5 separate regions of the Homo sapiens genome follow, and regions 2, 3, 4 and 5 are each linked to region 1. The links are contacts of gene promoters, found by promoter capture Hi-C in blood cells and fetal thymus (Javierre and others, 2016). All regions are on one chromosome and are shown on one strand. Each heading gives the region's core, a stretch centred on a gene start or on the middle of the fragment in contact. The rest is flanking DNA. Distances are from core to core; before and after follow the strand shown.

Region 1 (2,712 bases), core at 113-2,612:
CAAAGGCTTGGAACTCACCAGGAAACCTGGGGTATGGACTCACTGGAGGCGAGTCAGCTCCGGGGCAAGGGACCCACAGACAGCGCTGGGGTGGGGGGCGCCGCAAAGCTGGGGGCGCTCACAAGTGGAGGGAGAAGAAATGAGAGGCTGGCAGGTCAAAGGGGACGCTTCTGTCCAGTGGCGAGATGGTGGGAGCCTCCCCAGGGATGGGGGACGGAGAAGGATGTAGCAGGAGTTTGAGTCCAGGAGGCCACGACGAGAGGCGCAGGGTGTGCTCCAAGCCAGGGTGGGGGGTAGAGATGGGGCGCTCGAGGGCGGCGCCGCAGGTCCGGGGCACAGGTCGCACAGGTGCCTGCCCGCGCGGCGCAGGCTCACAGGTAGCGCTCCAGCCCCGACGCGAAGCCCGGCTGCCTCAGGTAGGCCTCCCCAGGGCTGAGCGGGCCGAGAGCGGCTGCCGGCCCGGCCAAGGCCAGGAGGGGCTCAGCGGGCAGCGGGCCGGGGCCGGGGCGCGTCGCGGGCAGTACCAGGCGGTCGGGGACCTGCGAGTAGAGTGGCGGGGAGGCGGCGGCAGCGCAGGGCGGGAAGGCTGCGGCTGCGGCGTCGGGCGCGGCGCAGCAGGGCGGCTCGGGGGCGCCCAGCCCCGCTAGCTCCGGCTGCAGGTTCACCAGGCTGTCGACGCTGAACAGACGCGCGGGCGGCGAGGGGCCCGGTCCGGCAGAAGGCGGCGGCACCAGCAGCGCGGGGCCGGGCGCGGGCGCGTAGGGCGCGTAGGGGAAGGGGAGCGGCGGCCCTGGCGCCGCGGCCGCGTGCGCGGGCAGCTCGGCGCGCTTGAAGCGCTTGCGGCGCCGCAGGAAGCTGCCGTTGTCGAACATGTCTGCGGCCGCGGGGTCCAGCGTCCAGTAGTTGCCCTTGCCCGGGTTGCCCGGCTCGCGGGGCACCTTGACGAAGCAGTCGTTGAGCGTGAGATTGTGGCGGATGCTGTTCTGCCACTTGCGCGGGCTGTCGCGGTAGAAGGCAAAGCGTTCGGTGATGAAGCGGTAGATGGCGGCCAGCGTGAGGCGGCGGCCCGGGGCGTGCGCCAGAGCCATGGCGATGAGCGCGATGTACGAGTAGGGCGGCTTCCCGCGCTGCAGGGGCCGCCGCCGCCGCCGCCCCGGGCCGGGCGCGGGCGTGGGGGCCGCCTCTCCGCGGCCAGCCGCCGCCTCCTCTGGCTCCCGCCCTGGCTCGGCTCCTGCGAGCGGCGACGGCGGCGGCCCCGACGGCGCGACCGCTGGCAGGGCAGGGAAGCCAGAGAACGCGGCGGGCGGATCCATGTCGCTGCGCCCCGCCATCGGCTGCGGCAGCCCCTGCCCGCGCGGCTCCGGGACCGCAGGGGCCGCCGACCCGCTTTATATGGACACGGCCCCCCCCCAACCACCGCCGGGGGAGAGGGCTCAGGCCTTGCCTGCTGGCCAGCGCCTCCCCTCTAATTTCCTCTCCCAGCCCCCTTACTCTGTTCACGGTACCCTCCTCCATTTCGCCCCTCCCTTTCTGCCTTTGGATCAGTTTTTCCCAGACCCAGACTCACCCCTTCCCCATCTCGGTTATATCAGCCCCTGGCCCCATCCCACTGTATTTGGTCAGTCCCCTTCCCTTTCCACCCCTCCTTCTACCCCCTCTCCTTTGGATCATTCCCAATCACAAATCCACCCATTCACTCTCCCAGCCCCCTCCCCATTTTGCTCCTCCCCATTTTGCTCCTCCCAGTAGTCGGTCCCCCCATCCTTCTCCTGGCCTTCCATCCCCAGCTGGAACAGAGATGAAGGCCGCCTTGCCAGCCCTCAGTATCCTGATGGGGAGGTGTCAGGCCCACTCACAGACATTAGGGAACCTGGGCCAAGGTAATGAAGCAGCGGGGCAGGGCAGAGCCAGGCCGGTTTTGTCTCTGGGAGAATGTTTGACTGCTCCAGATCAGGGTCACCATCTTGCCTCTCTGCCACCCCCCTCCCCCATACCCCTGTCATGCCCTCCCTCCAGGCCTTGAGAGCATTCTCTGAAAAAACAGAATTGTGGAAAGTGGTGCGGCCGCTTTAAATGAAGAGCCCCCAGGAAATCCACAACTTGGAGCTGCCTTTCTGGCTGCCTCCTCTCCACACCCCCCTGTTAAAGAAAACAGCTTTTCTTCACATACACACACACACACATACACCCACACACACAGTACAAAATGTAGGCTTCCACAGACTGGGGGTCTGAAAAAGCCGCCTTCTGACCCAGAAACACCACACTCACATCTCACTGGGGATGGGGGGTCTTTGGCAGTGTTTGTTAAAAACTCAGTCTGAGAAGTTCCACCCACAACTGGCATCCAGGGGGATGCAGCACCCAGCCTATTTTGGGAAACTTCTTCTCCCAAGAGACAGGAGACCCATCCCCAGCTCCAAGGGAACTACAGGGTGAAGGAGCCTTGTCTTAAAGTGGGTTGTCCTGGGGACAGGCAGATCAAGGGACTTGGACATGGAGCAGGGCTGGAAGGACAGTGAGCCCACTGAGGTGCCTGAGGTGCTGAGTTTAAGGGGAGCTCAGTCTCAGGGCCTTGCAAGTGCAGTCAGCACTTGAGAGCCAGGGCCTCCTTACATTTGGGGCATCTCACTTGCCCCATCCTAGTCCCCCAGCCATGCTATAGAGTGTCCCTAGGTATAGGTGACCAAAGCTAGTTACAGCAGGCCTGTA
Region 2 (2,712 bases), core at 145-2,644, 340 kb before region 1:
GCTCCAGCCATAGAGAGCTACTCGGGCTCCCTGAACGTATCTGCAATTTCCCAACTCCATCTCCATCCCCACTGTCCCTTCCACAGCTAGCTGCTCATTCCCCCTATTTTCACCTGAAAACTTCTTTCCTGGTATTCAAGGCCTCACTTAATTTGTGCTTCCTCGTAGAAGCGTGCTCTGGTCCCCCGGGCTCACACTTCCACCTCTCCTGAAGCCCCAGCCTTTGTATGCATCCAGTCTTAGATGATGGGTTTCGTATGGCTTATCACCCTTAGAATATGATAAAGGGAAAGCCGTGCATGCAGAGCCCAGGTCATATTCATTTTTCCATCCCCTGGATGAATAGTCTTTAAAATAGAGGACACGTGGTCAACATTTATTGCATTAATTTTAAGTCTGAAGACTAAGCATCATCCAAGGTTAGTATTAAATTATGTTCATCAAAAGCAAAACTGAGAGAAATCCAAACATCTAGGTACAATAGAGGTCTGAGCCTTCCCTCTTTCATGCCTGGCTTCTCAGAGAAAATCTCCAAATTAGTGTTTTTCAGCAGGGGTAGTATCAACACCCATAGGATGCTTTGGGAATTCGTCGGGGAGTTTTTGGCTTTCATACAGCTGTTGCAGGGGCGGGGTGGTGCGGGGGTAGTTGTGGTCAAGGGCTAGCGACACTTAGTGACCTGCTAAGAGCCCCACATAAAGAATTATCCCCCATCCTGCAAAATTTTTGCATGTTTTGCCAAACATTCATTAGGGGAGAAAAAAAAATCATTTGTAATTATCTGAGCCTAGAACCTGAATCCATTTTACGTAAACACGTAGTATTTGTTTGTAAAGGTTTAATGTGCACTAAATCTTACAGGAATGTAATTGCCATGTATATTGAGAGAAGAATGTGCTTCATTTTGTTCTGAACTTTACCAAGAGTTGTTCACTATTTTTGAGTGCCACCTTACTAACAACAATGCCTGTGTATTCCGGGTGTCAGAGAGACACACAGCTGTACTCCTTGGTATTTTAGCTGTCACTTTCAGGGTGACTCAACAGTTAGGTACAAGCTTTGACTATTACATTATGTCTACAAGTGTTGATGTACCCAAGTGTGGACAAACCAAATTACATATTATTTTATTATAAGCTACTATTTCTTTTTCCTTATAGTTAGGGCACTGAATTAATTTTTAAAAAATCATATGTGTAGGTGTGTTATATTATTCATAAGTTTCATTTCAGTACAGAAGGGACACTTTAAAGTATTTGTGATAAAATGGGATCCTGGGTCTGAAAGGATAAAGAGCCCCTGTTCTAGATGTTTCTTTCCACTACGAGAAATGAAATGTCCTGAGCTGTTGTACCAGTCCCTGGATCCTGGAGCTATTCTATTTTCTACTGCAGCCTTTTCTGCATGATTTTCTAAAAGAGTGGAGCACCTTTCGAGGAATAGGAGGTAGAGTGACACATTGCACATAGCAACAGGCCTGAGCCCAAGACCCTCTTTGGCTACCTACTGGTTATTTTTCCTTGGGCATGTCACTTAACCCTGGTATTATTAGCCTTATCTGGGAAATGGAGATAAATATGACTTACTTTATAGAGCTATAATGGCGATGACCTGAGACAACAGGCCTGAAGTGCTTTATATCTGCAAAATCAACTTCAATGCATGTTATCATGGTTCTTGAAAGAGGGAAGAAGCATGTGCCCCTGAATTTCCACAATGCTTCAAGCTTCGCTCAAGAACCCCAGGTGCTGTGAGTGGAAGATTTTGACTAATTCAGGACCCAAAGAGAGTTCCATTCCTGCTTTGCCACTGACTTCATAAATAACATTAGGCCAATGGCATCTCCTTACTGAGCTTCAGTTTCCCTATTCAAAAAAATGCAGCAATTAGAGCAGATGATCTTTGAAGAGCCTTCTAAGTTTGATAGGTTAGGATTCCAAGATCTTTCTCTACCCTCTAACCTCTTAATAAAACTCCCAAATTTTAAAGCCACCCCTTCTAAAAAATTAATTTGCATCAAATGCTAAAGCCCAACAACTAGTTGCTGCCCTTAGCAGCTTCCAGCCTGGCAGCTTGATCCTCTTTCGAAGGGGCCCTTTAAGGTCTCCAGGACATGAAGAGAAGCTCCAAATCCACGTTAGGAGCGTTCCACACACATTCGGGCAGAGGCACGAAGGTGCAGCCAGAGTTAGTGGTGGGCGGGGCACAGAGAGTGGGCTCAGGGGGTACTCAGAAGGGGAGGCAGGGAAGACAGCTGTGGCAGTGTGGAGCGTGGACAGGCTGGGTAAGACGGAGCCATCCAGCAGGACTTTCAAGAGGGGGGTGGGGGCCGTAGACCATTGGTGGCTGTATGAATGACAGAGAAGGAGGGCATGGAGAGACGTGCTAGAGGAGGCGCTGGGCAAAGCATGTTAGCGAGGGTGTGGTCTTAGAGCACATGGAACTGAGAGAAGTAGAGGGTCTGGAGCAGGACTTGGAAGCCCGGACTGTGGATTTTGGATTTGATCAATGACTGTCCCTAAAAGTCTTTTATTCAAGAAGATGGAAAAAATCGTGTCTCTCTGGGACACTGAGGCTCCTAAGGAATGCAGGGGGTGGTAGCTGGGCTAGGGAATTCAGGAGCCAGGGAGGGCTGAGCCAACTCTCCCAGCGGGCCCAGGCCCGTCTGCCAGAGCAGGAAAGAGAAATAAACACAGGCCGGACGGATCCGGA
Region 3 (2,712 bases), core at 157-2,656, 300 kb before region 1:
CAAGGTTCAAATGTAGGATCATCTAACCCAGGGATCAGAGTGGCAGGTGGCAGTGGAACATAGCACATCACCCCTTGTACCTGCAAGCACAAAGCTTGTGGCCCCTCAGAGCCTGTCTGCCCAACAGAAGACCAAGGACTCCACGATTCTAACGCCAGCTAAACCCAGAGCTCATTCCCAATGGTAGCCTCAGCATCTAGCCAGGACCTGGCACCAGAGGGGCTCAATTAATATTTGTTGAGTGACTACGTAAATGAATTTCCAACTCTTTGTAGAACATCTATGAGGGCGGTCATGAGATAAGTTGGTGAAAGTAAATGGGAAAGACCGAGGTGAGTAAACATGAAAGATTCATTTAGTTATTAATACAAATATTTCTCTCTGTCATTTTTGTCTATTGGCCTCCCTTCTTTTCCAATACAAACATTTATTAGGCATCTACCATGGAACAGGCCTGTGTGGGCTCCACAGATGCAGGGATAGACAATGTTAAGACATTTCTCAACATTCCTTTAGCCCTTACTGTGTGACTGACACTAATCCAAGCATTTTACATGGGTTTTCTCACTTAATACTCATAACAACCTGAAGAAGTAGAAACTTTTATTATTGTTCCATTTTACATGTTAGGAAACAAGAGACAAAGAAATTAAATAACTTAGTCAAACTAACTGAGAAAGTGGTGGAGCCCAGAATCATATGCAGACACTCAAATTTCAGAGCCAAGTGGGGAAAAATCTTCAGCCCTGCGTACCTCACTAGCTGATTGAATCAGGTGTGAGGGGGGGTTAAGTAAGGCAAGGGAGGGCCTTAGATGACATACATAGCATGGTATTTAGCAAAGAGAGAGCTCTTTCTAAATGTGACTATTGTGAACCCTATTTTTATTGTGAAAGTATTACCATGAAAGCAATAATTTTGTTATCCACACTTTCTCTCTTTTCTTTGGTATCTAATGAGCTTTTTTTAAAGGCCCTTAGAGGGTAGCTAAGGCACTGACTAAAGAGGGAACTGAGGCCCAGAAAAGGGCAGGAATCTGCCTCTTCCCAGGCCGCCAAGGCTAGAAGCATCAGTCTACTGGTAAATTTAACACCAGCTCTCTAGAGAAGAGAAAGCCTGATTTGCAGTCTTTGCCAGTTTCTATGGTGTGTTCTCACCATGGCAGATTTCAAACTGAAGTGAGATCACTTGATAGTGCAGTTGAATAGAGGCACTTACGGTCAGCTCTGGCCAGTGGGTGCAAACAAGCTCTGCACACCACGGACCAGAACCTAGGCTTTCTGACAAGCCTGGAGACCTTTACAGGATACCACCAAATCCAACGGCCCCAAGGGTCCATGTAGATGAGGAGTGGGGCTATGAGGATAGGAGGAAAAGGAGAGGGACAAAATGCTGAACCCCGAAGAGCTCTGAAAAGTTCAATAGGTCTTCCTTCTCCACACACTCAAGATTGCTTGTTCTATGCTCTCTCTGATAACTTGTAAAGTTTAGACTTGGGGAGAAGAAAGGGAAATGGCTTGGTTCCTGATACCCTCCTAGATTGAGCAGGATGTGGCAGTATGAGCTCAGTCCTGCCTGCTTTGCAGTTCCTGAAAGAAGAAGCCGTGGCTGGGGTCACCTGCTCCCTGGGTCCAGAAAGGGAGATCAGGTGATTTCATTTCCAGAGTACAGCATGTATTTCTCAATTTAACTTTGGGTCATTTTCACCGCTTATTTCCTTCCTCCTGGTCTCATAGTGTGTCCAGTGACTAATCCAAGACCCAGACTCTGACATAGGCTTAGAGATCTGTGATGTTGGGCACTCTACCAAGTACCCCTCTTCATCAGCATGGCCTCAATTCCACTAGTAGCTCTCCCTCTAGGTCAAGTCAGTGATGTGCTATTAAAATTGTCCGACTATTAATGATGGTAGTGAAAAAAATAACTGCACTTACTCTAACATCTTTAAACTGACTACTTAATATTAGCTTATTGCTATCCCAAACAAGTAAAAGAAACATTTAAGCCCCTACTATGTGTCAGACATGCAATGTGCATTATATTTAATTTTCCAAGCAAACTGACCAGGAAAGTTATCATCCTCATATTTTATTGATGAATAAAGCTCTTCCTAGAAGGGTTATGTAACTTGGCTGAAGTCACATGGCTAGTAGGTGACTGAGCCAGGATTGGAACCCAGGTGTATTTGTGTTCAATACTGTATTCTTTCCCTATTCTGTGATGATTCATCTCTTAGGTTGATTAGGAAAAAAAAAAAATCAAGATAATTCTGAGAGAGTGAACACAGGCTAGGCATATTAGTTTTCTATTGCTATGAAACAAATTACCATAAATTTAGCAACTTATAGCAGTACCTATTTACTATGGTATAATTGTGTAGCCCAGAAATCCGGGTGGGCTTATGTGAGTCTTCTGCCCTGGGTCTCACAGGCTAAAATCAAGGTGTTAGCCATCTGGGGTCTTATGGGAAGGCTCTGGGAAAAATGCCCTTCCAAGCTCAATCAGGATGTTGGCAAAATCCAGTTCTTTGCAGTTGTAGACTGAAGTCCCTGGTTCCTTGCTAGCCATCAGCTCCTTAAGGCCATTCATTTTCCTTCTCACATGGTCCTCTCCATTTTCAAAGCCAGCAATGATGCAGCAAGTTATTCTCATACTTCAAATATCTCCAAGATCTCCTTCTTCTGACTTCCTTTTCTGCTGTTGGCTAAAGAA
Region 4 (2,712 bases), core at 90-2,589, 280 kb before region 1:
CCTCCCCAAATCTTCTGGGCCCTGGCAGGTCCTGGCAGAGATCCTGGGCCCACTCTTGGCCTCTTTGACCAGGAAAAATTTGCTCCCGGGCTTAGGTCTTCAAAAAACACCAGCTCTTTCTGGCTAGCCAGGAAGGAGAGTAAACACCAAATAATAACAAAACAATAGGTATAATTTTAATATTTATTCTTTCACATGTAAACACATTCATCTAACAAAAGACTGAATCAGTATCTCCTTTGACCCTCATCAGAAGCTGAGGGGATAGTTGGCAGTGGGTGGAGGGGGGCGAGGGGGATTATTATCCTCATTTTACAGATGAGGAAGCTCAAGTCCAGAGAGGTTAAAGTGACTTTTGTGAATGTCACACCTCTGCTACAGTGCTCTAATAAGCCCACTGCACCAAACTTCCAAATTGGTAAGATCATGGCATCCTTTTTCAGTGAAGAGTGTGTCCCGGATGCAAATAGCCATTAAGTGGTTCATATGGTTCTGTGGTTGAGATGGGCCCTAAGAAGCTGTGATCTTTCCTCCCATCTCATGGTAACCTAGGGGTTAGAGGTAAGGCTACAGTCTGCAACTGAGGTCTGGACTCAGCCCAGGCAAGAACCAGAGACCCGGTCTCCTGGCCCCAGCCCAGTGTTATTTCCACTCTGACACTGACCTAGGGCAAGGCCCTCCCAGTTTTTTCAGCCTCCCTATCTGTAGTGAGAGGGTGTGGGAGAGAAAGCCTCTAGGGCCCCTTCCAGGGTCCAGGCTGTAGCTGTGATCAGTTCTGAGCTCAGGATGTGAAGGTGAAGAATGAGAGCAGGAAGTTCCAGGCTCCAGGGGGTGGGGCAGGCCCCACCAGGGGAGGCAGAGGGCACAGAAGCCACCCCTGACCGACTTCACAAGATAAGGCCCACCCTCACCTCCCCACTTCCTCCTCTCCAGCCCCAGGGTCTCCTTTGCTTCCACATCTTGTTGACTTTTGAATTTACAAGGTGTGCCAGTTGCCAAGGCCCCTGGTTGATTACACCCCCGGACCTGCCTTAGGAAAGCATCCTCCTCTCCAAGCCCCCACCAGCAACTGGGAGGTGAGGCTGGGAACGCAAGATGGGATCTCTCAGGTGCTGGAAAGAAATTAAAGAGGAAACTTATCAAAAAGAGGATGGAAGAGAGAAAGCAAAGGTAAGTTCCATTCTGGAAAGGAAATGGGGAGGAGCCACGTGCAATTTTATAGCCATGTTCTGAAACTCATGACTCTTGACCAGGTCCGACTCTGACCGTGGGGGAAAGCTCAGGTGGGGTGAGGAGCTTTATGGTGTTTGCTTGGTTTATTGGCTTTGTGGAAGAGGATATGAGGGCCCAGGCAGTTCTCTGGAGATAGGACCCCTCAAGGAAAGGCCAAGATTTATGGTTTCCGGAAGCCCTCAAGGTTACTGGCCTAGGCCTAGGCTTTCCTTGGTTCTGGGGATTTAAGGGAGGGAGGGCCTGGAGGTAAAGGAAATTCCAAATCATGGTGAGAATCATTCCCCAAAAGACTTTATCTTCCATGGTCTCCCATGATTCCCAGTAACTACATGATGTTGACAGTCCGCCATCATTTTAACGAAATGGGGGCCTGAGGCTGGGAGAGCAGGCAGGCCGGCCCCTGGTCAGCTAGAATCAGTGTCAGGGGAGCAACTCAAACCCATCTTTCCTGGTTCCCACTCCAGGGCGCTTTCTCACTGGGCTATTTATACTGGAGTGGCCTTTGACACCCAATCAGAAAATACCTGAGTCACACTGGCTAAAAGAAAAGAAGTATTGCTAAGGGCTCTGGCCTAGAGTCACCTCTGTGTCACCACATGCAGGCCTGGGACAATAGCCATCCATCACTGCTCAGCAAGGTAGTGTAGGTGTCCCCTTGCACAAGCATGTGACTACACAAAGGGTGCTTGACCTTCCAGGAAATGCTACTGTGGACACTGTCCCTGGCCAAGTGGCTCTGGAAACAAATGTTTCATTGACAAACCTACTTCACAGGCATAAGAGGCTGGTTCCTGACATGGCCTTCCAGTCTTCTGTGGACCCTGTTAGCAGGATAAATTTTATTTCTGAGCTTAATTAGGGGACATGCCATAAATATTCATGCAGCAAAATGAGCCCTGGCTCACAAGTGCAGCTGCTTCCCGCTTGGGGGAAATTAACATTGTTTTCCAACCATGAGTAATGAGGCGCCACTGCTGGAGAGAGGAGCCTTTTCAACAGCCTCTTTAGGACAGAAAGGGAGAGCCACACTCAGAGGCACCCGCACCCTGGGAGCCAGCCTGGCCCCCGCAGACCCCTCTGCATCTCCAAATGAGGGGCACAGCTGGGCTCCTCTGGGGCTCAGTCCTGAAGGGAGCCCCCACCAAGGCGCTCAGCAGAGCAGACAATGCATCAAGAACAGGGATCAGCAAACTATAACACAAGGGCCAAATCCACCTGCCACCTGCTTTTGTAAATAAAGTTTTATTGGAACCCATTTGTTTAGATATGGCTACAACAGCAGAGTTGAGTAATGTGACAAGAGACCTTATGGCCTGCCAAGCCAAAGGAAAATATTTACAACCTGGTCCTTTGCAGAAAAAGTATGCCCTAGAACTGTTTCATCCTGGACATTTGCAATTATTAATATAAGTCCCATAATCTCAAATTCTCTGTAACCTTAGGAATATGGAATGGTTTTAAAGTCTCATGGTTTTAGAA
Region 5 (2,712 bases), core at 136-2,635, 260 kb before region 1:
ATACTTTGCAAACTACAAAGCCCCAGGGAGCCCCCTTAATGTGGCTCCAGTTTCCCCTGCGGCTCCTGGGCTGGGGCGTCTTAGCCTGGCTGCTGGGCGTCCTCGAGCTCCACTTGCACCCAGGCCTCCCTCTCTGTGCGTCGAGTCCGGCGGTGCTGACCCAGCCTGGCCCAGCAGGAGAACCTCAGCTCGGGAACCGCGGGGCCCTGCGGGGGAAGGTCAGGCTGGCAATTTATGGTGTGTGGGACCAACTCTCTCCCGACACATGATCTGTCAAGGGCGATGTTTTCCTTGGAAAGCTGCTCCTGCGTGGAACCCTCTTCCCGGCAAGGAGCTCTCCCTCAGGTGCTCACAGAGTTCACCGGCAGGCGACGGGGAGGCCGGGGCCTCCTGGGAAGGGGCCGTTTCCATCAGAAATGACAAATGGATTTCCTTAGCTCCAGGCCTCAGCCCAAGCACATTCTGCCGGGCAGAACGGCCTCATAAAGGTTCTGAGAGGGCCACAGAGCTCTCGTGGGCTGGGAGGGAAGCCTGGCCTGGCTCTCTGCCCCTTCTACACCAGACCCTCTTGGTCTCAGAGGCTGCAGAGTGGCCACAGAAACAGAGATACAGGGATGCAGAGAGGGGGGAAGAGAGGCAGAGATGTAGACACAGGCACAGAGAGCTCAAAAGTCAAAAAGACTGAGAATGACACAGAGACAGAGTCTGGGCAGGGAAGGAACAGAGGAAGTGCCCAAGAACAAAAGCACATGGTGATGGAGAGCCTCAGAGACAGGGAAAGACAGAGCAAGGAGGGAGAAGGGACGGTAAACACGTGCAGTAAGCGACGGCGGCGTGGGCTGGGGCCATGGAGAGGCAGCAAGAAGGCCGGAGAGACAGCAAGGGAGAGCTCCAGACAGAGCCGAAAGATGAGACAGACAGGGAGTGAGGGCCTAGGAAGAAGTGAAGGAAGAGGCCAGGAGACAGAGAAAAGAAGAGCTGTGGGCGGAGAGGCCAATGTGGAGGAGGCTGTCACAGTCCACACAGGACACTGAGGTGAAAAAACCAAATCTCTGTGACCCCAGTGAAAGACGTGGGTTGGTTCCACCTTCATTTAGAACAAATGTATGGGCCATTCAAATCTCAGGCCCTGTCACGCAAACCTGCCTGCTCACCCACTTCCTGGATAGCAGCAAGTCCTCAGAAGTACAGGTAGGGGATGAGAGCACAGGTCCGTTGGGTCCCCAAGGGAGGGGGACTGTGTCGAAGGCCTGGTGTGGGTGGCTGTGAGGGGAGCCCAGGGAGGTGGAGGAAAGAGCCCTTTTGTGGGGGGGCTGCAGTGGTGGTGATGATGGAGGGCTGGTGAAGCGGGAGCTATCAGGAATCCTGGCTGAGCTGATGGGGAGGAAGAGAAGAAAGGAAAGGATCCCACTTTCTCTGAGGCCAAGGACCACTGTGTTTTTCATAGCATCAGACTCCAGTTTGAAAGCTAGGAAGTCCAGCCTCCACTAGGACAGGAATCCACTCAGTAACTATTTATTGAGCCTCTACTAAGTGCCAGGCAGTCCTCCTGTTGCTGGGGATACCACAGTGAACACAACGGAAGAAATGTACCCTCACGGAGCTTGCTTCCTAGTGAGAGGAGAAAGAGAATAAGAAACAAAGGCTTGCAATGTATGGCATGGCAGGCGGGAATGGGAGCTGTGAATACAAGCGGCAGGGGAGGAGGAGAGAGTGCTAGGAGGCTGGTGATTTTAAGCAGGGTGCTCACACCAGCCCAGTTCAGGGAAGACCCAGCAGAGAGGCCTTGAGAGTGTGGAGGAGCGAGCTGTGAGGACGCTAGGGAAAACGGGCCTGGCACGTCCATGGAGAGCAAGAAGAGTGGGCCAGAGGGGAGGGGACACAAGGCCCAGTGGGAGATGAGGGCAGGACTGGAAGAGGGGCCAGGCCTTGCGGGTCCCGCAGGCCCATGTAGGTGCTGGTTCGGGCTCTGAGTGAAATAAGGAATCAGCGAGGGCTTTGAGCAGAGGAGTGATGTGAAACGACTTACTTTATTTAGGAGGTGACTGCCATAGGTGTGACAAGAGATGGTGGTGACTTGGACCAACCAGGGTGCTAGCTGTGGAGGTGGTAAGAAACTGTCAGGTTCTAGATGTTTCAAAGGTAGAGTGCACAGGATTTGCAGACAGATTGGTGTGGGTGTGGTATGAGGAGGAGAGGCAGGAGTCGCGGCCTCCCTGCCAGGGTCCTGCACCTCTGCTGTCACCTCCTGGGGCTCTCTTGGATAGCCCTGCCTGAGAGCCAGTGCTTCCCATGGGTGGTGCTCAGACCTGCCGTCCAGAAAGGCCCACCAACACTTTTCAGTGGGCATGCAGTCAGGAGGACAGGGACAAAGAGAGCCTCAGAGACTCCCTGTGGACCATCCACAGAAGCCCAAGGAGCTGAGACCATGTGAGGGAGACTGAGCCTGCCTTGCCATCTGACTGCCACTCTACTTGTTCCCACCCCACCTTTCTAGTGCTGCCTCCTGCAGGAGAATGTCCTTTTTATTTCCAGAAGTGTTGACTGCATTGACTGCAGAGAACAAAGGTGGTGGTTGAAAGAATTAAGTGGACTACAAGAACTAACCTAGGTAAAGCCCTACACAGTTACTATTCAGTAAAAGGTATTGATGATCCTGATAATTATTATTGGTAATTAAGAGTCAGACAGATATGGATTTGAATTGTGTGT

Evidence for each region. Contacts are between HindIII fragments. The CHiCAGO score rates a contact against its expected background, and 5 or more counts as called.
Region 2: a contact is called between a fragment that was not itself captured here and the fragment with the promoter of FOXE3 in region 1, in 3 of 17 cell types (erythroblasts, total CD8 T cells and activated CD4 T cells). The highest score is 5.7, in erythroblasts.
Region 3: a fragment that was not itself captured here is called in contact with the fragment with the promoter of FOXE3 in region 1 in 16 of 17 cell types (naive CD8 T cells, megakaryocytes, M0 macrophages and 13 more); the score reaches 16.0 in naive CD8 T cells.
Region 4: a contact is called between a fragment that was not itself captured here and the fragment with the promoter of FOXE3 in region 1, in 16 of 17 cell types (M0 macrophages, naive CD8 T cells, total CD8 T cells and 13 more). The highest score is 12.9, in M0 macrophages.
Region 5: a contact is called between a fragment that was not itself captured here and the fragment with the promoter of FOXE3 in region 1, in 1 of 17 cell types (non-activated CD4 T cells). The highest score is 5.9, in non-activated CD4 T cells.

What each region holds. Positions count from the first base shown.
Region 1 is chr1:47,414,935-47,417,646 of GRCh38, reverse strand. FOXE3 (forkhead box E3) reads right to left here and starts at 1,362. Exons shown (of 1, transcript NM_012186.3): 1 at 1-1,362. The coding sequence starts at 1,331. The coding sequence ends at 372. The region is part of intron 1 of LINC01389 (long intergenic non-protein coding RNA 1389); the gene reads left to right. The HindIII fragment of the contact is 18,012 bases long and covers 1-2,712 here.
Region 2 is chr1:47,752,326-47,755,037 of GRCh38, reverse strand. No RefSeq gene overlaps it. Among named protein-coding and RNA genes, the nearest start is that of LINC01738, 65 kb to the right of the region's middle. The HindIII fragment of the contact is 669 bases long and covers 1,060-1,728 here.
Region 3 is chr1:47,716,995-47,719,706 of GRCh38, reverse strand. No RefSeq gene overlaps it. Among named protein-coding and RNA genes, the nearest start is that of LINC01738, 30 kb to the right of the region's middle. The HindIII fragment of the contact is 2,620 bases long and covers 97-2,712 here.
Region 4 is chr1:47,696,355-47,699,066 of GRCh38, reverse strand. All of the region lies in intron 2 of LINC01738 (long intergenic non-protein coding RNA 1738), which reads right to left. Among named protein-coding and RNA genes, the nearest start is that of LINC01738, 9.2 kb to the right of the region's middle. The HindIII fragment of the contact is 3,165 bases long and covers 1-2,712 here.
Region 5 is chr1:47,675,046-47,677,757 of GRCh38, reverse strand. No RefSeq gene overlaps it. Among named protein-coding and RNA genes, the nearest start is that of LINC01738, 12 kb to the left of the region's middle. The HindIII fragment of the contact is 6,490 bases long and covers 1-2,712 here.